2 separate regions of the Homo sapiens genome follow, and region 2 is linked to region 1. Evidence: promoter capture Hi-C in 16 types of primary human blood cells and fetal thymus (Javierre and others, 2016). All regions are on one chromosome and are shown on one strand. The core of a region is centred on a gene start or on the middle of the fragment in contact, and the rest is flanking DNA. Distances in the headings are between cores, read along the strand shown.

Evidence for each region. Contacts are between HindIII fragments. The CHiCAGO score rates a contact against its expected background, and 5 or more counts as called.
Region 2: a fragment that was not itself captured here is called in contact with the fragment with the promoter of CCAR2 in region 1 in 4 of 17 cell types (non-activated CD4 T cells, M0 macrophages, naive CD4 T cells and 1 more); the score reaches 7.4 in non-activated CD4 T cells.

What each region holds. Positions count from the first base shown.
Region 1 is chr8:22,602,251-22,606,664 of GRCh38, reverse strand. CCAR2 (cell cycle and apoptosis regulator 2) reads right to left here and starts at 1,908. Exons shown (of 21, transcript NM_001393997.1): 1 at 1,823-1,908; 2 at 834-929; 3 at 489-580; 4 at 1-58. The coding sequence starts at 891. It overlaps C8orf58 (chromosome 8 open reading frame 58), which reads right to left. Exons shown (of 7, transcript NM_001013842.3): 5 at 4,353-4,414; 6 at 4,022-4,128; 7 at 2,523-3,470. The coding sequence ends at 3,359. LOC107986876 (a long non-coding RNA gene) reads left to right here and starts at 1,665. Exons shown (of 1, transcript NR_160769.1): 1 at 1,665-3,532. RefSeq lists silencers at 1,491-1,550, 1,611-1,910 and enhancers at 1,574-2,074, 2,081-2,190. The HindIII fragment of the contact is 4,257 bases long and covers 260-4,414 here.
Region 2 is chr8:22,413,906-22,418,350 of GRCh38, reverse strand. It overlaps SLC39A14 (solute carrier family 39 member 14), which reads right to left. Exons shown (of 9, transcript NM_001128431.4): 5 at 3,449-3,571; 6 at 2,394-2,582; 7 at 2,071-2,278; 8 at 516-700. Among named protein-coding and RNA genes, the nearest start is that of PPP3CC, 25 kb to the left of the region's middle. The HindIII fragment of the contact is 1,844 bases long and covers 1,940-3,783 here.

The DNA of each region.
Region 1 (4,414 bases), core at 659-3,158:
CAAAGTAGTCATGCAAGCTGGTAACAATACCAGTGAAGACCCGCTGTTTCTCCCCACCCTGTAAGAGAAGGAGACAGCTGAAAAGTAAAAGGGAGGAAACTGGACAAAATCACACTCTGCCATGAAGGTCTCATCTCAACCCACGCCCCAGCTCAGCGTACTGCATCAAGAGTTCGCACAGAGTGAAGTACAGGTGTGGTGGGCATACTCCATCATTAGGGGTTGGGGCATGTTTGAGCTGGTTCTTGACCCACAAGCTTCTTCTGGGATTTCCAGTTCATTAATTCCAAGACGTAAGCTAAAGATTTCCCTGGAGCGAGAAATGAAGATGCCCCAGTCTGAAGGCTATCTGGGCAACCCCATACTAGCCCACTACCAGGAGAGGGATCAGGAATGATAAACACTATTATGTAAGAGAAAAAGAGCACCAGGCCTCCATGCATTCAGTCCCAAGGGCTGAAACTTACTACAAGGGATGCCGAACCTACCTGAAGGTGCCTGGCATTCTGGGACAGTTCTGTGGCCACAGGAGGAGTGAGCAAACCAGGAGGAGGGCCCAGAAGAGATGTTGAAGCTGTGCCTATGGGGAAAGAGAAGCAATCTCCAGGAACCGCCCCTACCACCTTAAGCACGAGTCAACCAAAGGATGTGGTAAATCCAAAGGCTACAGCTCCAGCCAGCTCCTCCACAGAGCTTCACTGGCAATCACTGTGGGCATCTCCTGCTTTCCAGAGGAACATCAGCAGCAAATTGCTCTCCACCAGGGAAACCCCAAACTAACTCCAGAGCACATACTTCCCAGGATGAGGCCAGGTAGGGAGAACAGTGATCACCTGAGAAGTTGCGTCCCCCTGGAAGCGGGTTGATCCGCTGGCGCTTAAACTGGGACATTGGGAACGCTGTCCTCTTTCAGAGTCGTGGGGAAAAGGCTTCAATCCAAAAAGAAAGAAATTAACAGCTTATAAGGGAAATTTCCATCTATACCCGGAAAAGTGGAGAATCTTAAGTAAGGATATTTCGGAAAACAGGGAGGTGGGTAATAAGAATGAATGAAAGCAATGGATGGAGAGAATATAGAGAAGAAAGAAATGAAACAAGAAATTACATTGTTCCAGTTTGCCCTGACAATAACCTAGTGGTGCATGATACTGTCATGCTGTTTTACAGACAAGGAAACTGATGCTCAGAGAGATCAAGAGACTTGCCCGGGGCCACATAACCAGGTAGTGACAAAACTGCTACTCACACCCAGGCCTCCCAACAACTTAGCGCTCCTCTCACTATGCCACGCCACCCCCAGAGTAGCTGGCGGGGTGAGGGGCTCGAGAGAGCCCCGATGACATTCCTTCGTTCAAAAACATCCGCCAAAACCCTCCACGCAAGGCCCGGAAAAATGGAGGAGGCCGGTGCCGGCGAGGAGACTGTGTGGGCCCTCTCCCCGGAAGCCCGACCCGTTGTTTCCTCGACCGGCTGGTGGGAAGGCAGCTCCCTGGCCGACCAAACGCGAAACCGGCTGCGCGCCACCCTCCTGCTCCCACGCTCCCGGGCCCTCCGCTCCGGCCTCAGCAGCCGCCAGCGCCGGGTCTCCCAGCAGAGCCGCGGCGAGGCCACCAAGGGAGGACTGAGGCGCGCGGTTTCTCCTCCTCCCGCCCGCCCCCAAGGCCGAGGCCGTTGCCAGGGAGACGGGACTTGCAGTCCAAAGAGGGGCTCGGCCCCTTCCGCGCCCCACGCATCTTCGCCGCCCGGCCCTCGCAGCCCCTCGGCCAGCGGAGGGGCGGAGGGGCGAAGGGGCAGAGGGGCGGCAGGGGGCCCCCCAACCCACCTGCGGGCCAGGGCAGCGACACCGGGGGGACAAAGACACCCGGAACCACCACAGCCGCTGCTGCCGCCGCCACCGGAAGCGCCTCTCCGGAAGCGCGACCACTGGTCGGAAGCTGCCGCTCTCCCGGATATGGTCCCTCCCTCGTCTCCGCCGACCTCTCCCTTCCCCCACGCCGGCTTGCCATCCCGCGGCAACTGGGGAGCGGAAGTGCGCCTTCCCGGATCGGATGCGCGTCAGGAAGTCGCGCCTCGGTAGTGTCCTCGCTAAAGAATCCCATCAGGAAAGAAGGCTTCGGATCATTGGTTCCGGGCTCAAAGGAAGCGGGAGCTGGGCCCCCCAAACACAAGGGACCCCCGACTGCCTACCACGCTCGCCTCCCTCTGGCAGTCGAGACTGCAACAGATAAGGAAACCAGCCCCTCCTGACTGGAGGAGAAGGATGCCTATCAGTGACCATTTCTAAGAGACATTCCTGGTCTGACTCAAGCCAGTGACCACCATGCCTAGCCAGTCAGGAATCAGTGCCCTAATTCTCAAATATGAAATCTAAGAGGCCTCAATGAAATGACCTGCTCAAAATCTTGCCAGGAGACTGGCCATTTTAGTCCCCATTAGCAATCCCAGCCCCCCCTTATCCTCCGACCTCCCCATCATCACTCCAGCCTTACTTTCCCCTTTCCTATTCACCTGAGGTTTACAAAGCACTTTGAGGCAGTTTAATCTCACTTTATCCTCATAACAAGTCTGTGAGGTAGATAGGGCAGGCATCATTATTCCCAGCGGGAAGCTGTGGCTCAGAAAGGTTGACTTGGGGTCTAAAAACTAGTACAGGCATCTGGTTTGAATTAAGACCTGTAAACGCTAGTACGGAGCAGAGAAGCTGAGCACTGGCTTTGAAAGTTATTCAGTTCCCAGGTTGTCCCTGATCTTCCTCATTCCTTGTGCAGTCTTCAGGAGTCCGGGGCAAGATTCCATGCAGAGGCAGCCAAAGCCACACCGTTCTCTGTCCCAGGGCTGCCAGCATGGCTCTGAGGAGGAAAGCTCAGTAACTGCCCACTGGGGAATAAAGGTCAGTTCCATCCTTCTGCAGTGACCTCCCCCAGAATATCAACCCTTTGGATGCATTATTTCAGAAGAGATGGTTGGATCCAGCCAGCTTGCAACACTGACAGTCACACAGAGATATGCATACCATTGCGCATAAATACACATCTGCAACATGCTGGGCCCAGACAGGTCACCATGCCAAAAACACTCCACGGACACCTGACAATGAGTGAGTTCACATTGTGGAAGCCCAGGGATTTCTGGTGAGGAGGAAGAGCCCTGGAGCTGCGGCATCTTGGGGGCCTCTCAAGAAACCAAGGTTCCTGACCAGACTGCTTAGAGGAGAAAGATTCAGCCCTCGACTCAAGAGAGGAGGGCAGGCGTCAGCAGCTTTTCCTGGCAATGTGGAGAAGCAGCAAGAGGGCAGAGGGCGAGGAAGACTTCACAGCAAGTCCCCTCCACCCAGGGTCACCAGGTGCACCGAGAGGTCTCAGCCTACAGAAAGGTTTTTTGCTCGTTGCTTCTTAACCACTAATGATGGCATAAAGGTCTTCCGGTGGGGGCGGCACTGAGGCCTTTCAGGGAGGTCCCTGGACTCGATCCTGTGGAATGAAAAGAAGACATTAGGCTAGAAGGGGGAAATAAAACTAACAATGGCCCTAGAGTTGAGAGAACGTGGTTTATCTGCTGGTGGGTAGCTGGGTGTGGGCGCAGCCCGGGGCTGTTAAATGACTTGGTATTTCTTCCTCCTGGAGAACGATTCAATACAAGCCCCGAAGCATGATGGCCTTCACCCACTGTGAAATCCTTTGTGCTCCACCTTGCTCTCCCCACGAACCTGGAAGGTGGCCTAAATGTCAGCATTGAGGGTGAGGGGTTGCTGAGCTAGGGTAGGCAGATTTCCCACATTCTGGTCCTAGCTGTCACTGACTCACCGTGCGGCTTTGGAAAAGCAACTACCCCCAACCCCACCCAGAACCCTGCCTCCTTATCTGTAAATGGGGTGTTTTAACTACTGTTTCTTCTAGCAGCCCCTCCCAGACTGCCTCTCAAGTTTTGCGGGGACAATAATGACAACTGGCATGACAATCTCAGCATCCTGGCTTATCAGTCTCCTCTCCGTGCCCTAACCTGGGCTGGGCACGGGGCTCACCTGGGGTCAGAGCCATCAGGAGGGGCAGGGGGCTCAGGGTGGTGGTGGCTTCTCCGGCAGATCCGGTTGAGCAGGACCTTGACCTTGTCCCAGTGGGAGATATCCCGCTGAGCAGAGGATGAGGGGTCACCCAGAGCCCTCCCCACACTCAGACCCCCGACCAAGCTCCCAGAGACAGCTGTCGCCACAGCCAGGACAAGTCGCCTGCTCCAAACAGGAATCAATCCTGTCATTTCCCCAGAGTTGCTGGCCCCCAGGGTGCCCATGCATCCCCCACCTCCCCTCCCCCCACCCCAGCCCACCACCTGCCCCACATATACCTGTCCCCTACCTTGTGTCCCTGGGAGGATGGCAAGTGGTACGTTGGCTCCACTGGGGTTTCTGGCAGCCTGG
Region 2 (4,445 bases), core at 1,612-4,111, 190 kb after region 1:
TGACATATGCTAACAAAAACATAAACTTTTCCTCCTTTAAAATCTAATGCCCCCTTAAAAACCGCTGAATGGTAGGTACACCTTAAACAGACGAACTCTGTGGTATGTGAAAGAAAGCTAAGGAAGATGTTATTAAAAACAAACTACCAGCCATGTGCGGTGGTTCATGCCTGTAATCTCAGCACTTTGGGATGCCGAGGCGGGTGGATCACCTGAGGCCGGGAGTTCGAGACTAGCCTGGCCAATATGGGGAAACCCCATCTCTACTAAAAATACAAAAATTAGCCAGGCGTGGTGGCACACGTCTGTAATCCCAGCTACTCAGGAGGCTGAGGCAGGCGAATCACTTGAACCCGGGACGCGGAGGTTGCAGTGAGCTGAGATCATGCCACTGCACTCCAGCCTGGGAGACAGAGTGAGACTCCATCTCAAAAAAATAAAAATAAAAAAAAACTACCTACCTAACATCCATCCCCTTAGCCGCCCTCTCATCCAGTGAACTGTGGAACACTTACCATATCAGCCAGAGAAATATACAAGAACATTCCTCCAGCTAGCGCAAAAATCCAGTTGGCAGAGAAGTGGCTGCCGGCCAGGATGCCAAAGGCCAGACCCAGGTAGCAGCAGCAGGCAGAAAGGAAGTTGAAGAAGAGAGCTTGTTGGATGCTCATCCCAGCGTTGAGCAGGATGACAAAGTCTCCTACAGCAGCGAGAATGAAAAGGGGAGGGACGAGGAAGGAAGAGTAAGATGGGCATGGTGAATGCACACCTGTCATCCCAGCTACTCAGGAGGCTCAGCTGGGAGGACTGTTTGAGCTCAGGAGTTTGAATCCAGCCTGGCGACAAAGTGAGAGCCAGTCATACAAGGTCGTGGGAGACAGAGGGCACCGATGACATCAGACTGCTAAAAGTGTGGGTGAAAAAAATCAAGACAGCCCTAGACTCAAGACAGAAGTGACAAGACAGGCCCTTGAACTTCCTGTTCAGGACCCGTCTCCATTTGCCAAACTGGCCGTATACCCAGCCTAAAGGCTGAAAATCTTTCTCAGGATTTTAAAAATAGATGACCAGCTGGCACTGGCCTCCTCATTTCTCTCTGGATTCATAGTGAAACAGAAGGAACCCCCTTCCTCACAACTACCATGGAAACAAAATCAAAACTGCGAGAAGTTAAGTGTCGAGACTGTGAGAAGTGATTTGCCCGAAGTCACAAGTCAATATATGGCAAAGCCAGAACTTGACCCTACGTCGTCCCTAAAGCCTCTGGAGTAATTACTAGCTTTTTACACTCTCCCTCTGATCAAACTAAGTCCCTCCTACCCCCTGGTTCATCCAGCTGCCATGCACCTGCCAGGCACCTGAGCCTTTGGAAGATTAACAGGCTACAAAAGAGAGCCTTTACTGAGTGCTCAGAATAGCACCTGGCACATGGGAAGTCCCTCTCACCCTTTGTTTTCCTTTAATCCTCACTATTATTCTAAAAGGAGGTGCTCTTATTAACCCCACTGTATAGGTGAGAACTGAGCCACTGCATATGGGGCTAAAAGGAAACAAACACCCCTGTAAAAACCCCATCATTTTAAATTATCTATTTAATCGTTAAGAAATGGTGGTTAGGCCACGTTCGGTGGCTCAAGCCTGTAATCCCAGCACTTTGGGAGGCTGAGGCGGGCGGATCACGAGGTAAGGAGTTCAAGACCAGCCTGGCCAACGTAGTGAAACCCTGTCTCTACTAAAAATCCAAAAAAAAAAAAAAAATTTAGCCGAGTGTGGTGGCAGGCGTCTGTAATCCCAGCTACTTGGGAGACTGAGGCAGGAGAATCGCTTGAACCCAGGAGGTGGAGGTTGCAGTGAGCCGAGATCACATCACTGCACTCCGGCCTGGGCAACAGTGCGAGACTCCGTCTCCAAAAAAAAGGTGATTAGGGTCCATGAAGCTTTAGGAGTGTGTTAAATCAGTTACAATAAGCACTGTGAAGACAGGGAGATGGGAGCAAGGAACCGGCCACAGGAAGGGGGCCTACACCACCACCCAAGGGAGCACCAGTGGAACGGGGGACGCACGCTTACCTAGCTCATGTGGGAACTCCTCACAGAGGATGGCCACCGAGGTGCTGATGCCTTGGAAAACTGACACAGTGAAGGAAGCACCGATGGCCAGGCCATCGATGAAATTATGGAGGCCGTCGCTCAGAGTGATCATCCAGGCCAGAGTGCCGATATCAGAGTAGCGGACACCTTTCAGCCAGTAGCAAGCACTCTGGGAAGCCTGCAGGTCCTAGGAGAAAGCACACCCCCAGGGCCCACAGCGTCAAAGGCTGGACCATGTGCCCTCAAGGTAAGCCTGAGTCAACCTCTTAGAGGCTCCACCAAGCAGCTGGTGGCCCACTGACCTGCACAGAGAGCGAGCCCACAATGACCTTCTCGTCCACCATGGGCGCCTTGCCGTCCAGCTCACTGCTGCAGTGCTGAGGAATCATGTGGTCCAGGTCCCCGTTCTGCAGCTTCTCCATCACCCCCTCCTCCTGGTCCTTCTTGGAGGGAAGCGACTCAGAGGCATAATGGCTGTGTCCATGATGATGCTGGAAGGGTGACAGGGAGGGATCAGCATGACATTCACCAAAACCACAAACCTGATTGAGCACCTGCTCCAAGGAAGTGCTTCACACACTGGAAGACCTCAGCCTTACCATCGAAGATGACACAAGCAGGTCACGTGCCCAGAAACATAGCAAAAGCTATTATATAAAGCCATGGTCGGGCACGGTGGCTCACACCTGTAATCCCAGCACTGTGGGAGGCCGAGGTGGGAGGACTGCTTGAGCTGAGAAGTTTGAGAGCAGCCTGGGCAACGAAGCGAGACCCCGTTTCTAATATCTATATATATAAATCTGCACCAAGTGCGAAGGACCTGGTGTCAGACAGATATCAAAGCTGTCTCCTCGGGGTACATGCTTATTCCACCAAGGCAGCCACTGCTCAAATATTTAGAGCTCCTCTTTTGCAATGGCTAATCTCACTCAATTCAGCAGCTATTTAGGGAATAACTGCATGCCAGCCACTAAAGATATCTTTTTGAAACTGTACTATAATAGTCCTGTTTCTCTGCAGCCTCATACTTCATACAGAATGAATGCATGGTATCAAGCTCTTCTCCCCATCCTGTAAAGATACAAATATATTAAGGAAATAATCTTAGAACAAAACAAAGGGGATAAACTACTGCTTAGTAGAAGGCACCCTGGCCAGATCTAGTTTCTGGTCTGGCCTCACTTCTGGCCAAATATCCTCAGGAGGTGAAATGGGATTGTCTCCTCAAGAAATTAGAGTTTCACGGAAATTGTGATATTGGGCTAAGACCATCACCACCACCACCACAATACATCAACATTGTTTGAGATGGGTGTTTTCCCTAGAAGAGCTTTCTTCAGCAACAATTGGGCCTCACCTCATTTTTCTGCTTAAGAAGAATCTTCAAGATCTTCTCTGTGAAAAAGAAAAGATAAAAGCCCCCAAACACCACTGCAGACTTGGAGACATAATAATCTTCCAGAGGGTTGAAACCAAATGCCTGTGGACCCAGGAAAAGAAAATGAGTTTTAAAGAAAATAAAGCATCTTTACTGATCCCCCTCTTATCTCTTAACTACTTCCTTGACTCTAGGAAAGGAGAGAGGCATAATGGAGTAACTCTGCCGTCTACCCATCCTCTTTCCAGCAAAAATCTAGTCCTTGGTGTTTCCCTGATGTGACATCACTAAACCTGCCAGGTTCTTCTCAAGCTTATTTGCTGATGCAAAAGACTGATCATCTGTAGAATTTTAATCCCAGAAAGAAAAACCTCCGATATGGTTTTCCACTTTTGATTTATCTTGGTGCTTTGCTATGAAGGCATTCTCTGCCAATAGATTTCATATTGAAGGAGCAGACACTTGTATTTATTTTCATCTTATCTAGTGTTCCTGGCTGACCTGCCTGTAAACACAAAGGGAGATGGTGTAATTATACTTTCTAAAACGGGAAACCCATTTCCCAGTTAAGTAATAAGAACTGCAGCGTTTTCCTAACCGCAGACCTCCCAGTGACCACAGAACCAAGAAAGTGGACTGTGTTATTGCGAGCGTCAATTTTTGGGTTTTGTTTTGAGTCCTTTCTGAAACTGTCACTTATCAAAGAGGGAGGGGAGAATCCACTGGGAAGAGGACAGGAGTAGAAATCAAGAGAATTCTGTCCTAGGGTAAGCTCCTGATTTATGGTGGGTTCTTGTGAATGTGTCTAATGACCTGGCCGGGCACGGTGGCTCATGCACTTTAAAGGACCGAGGTGGGTGGATCACTTGAGGCCAGGAGTTTTGAGACCAGCCTGGCCAACATGGCGAAACCCCAACTCTACTAAAAAAAAAAATACAAAAATTAGCTGGGCCTGGTGGCACACCTGTAATCCCAG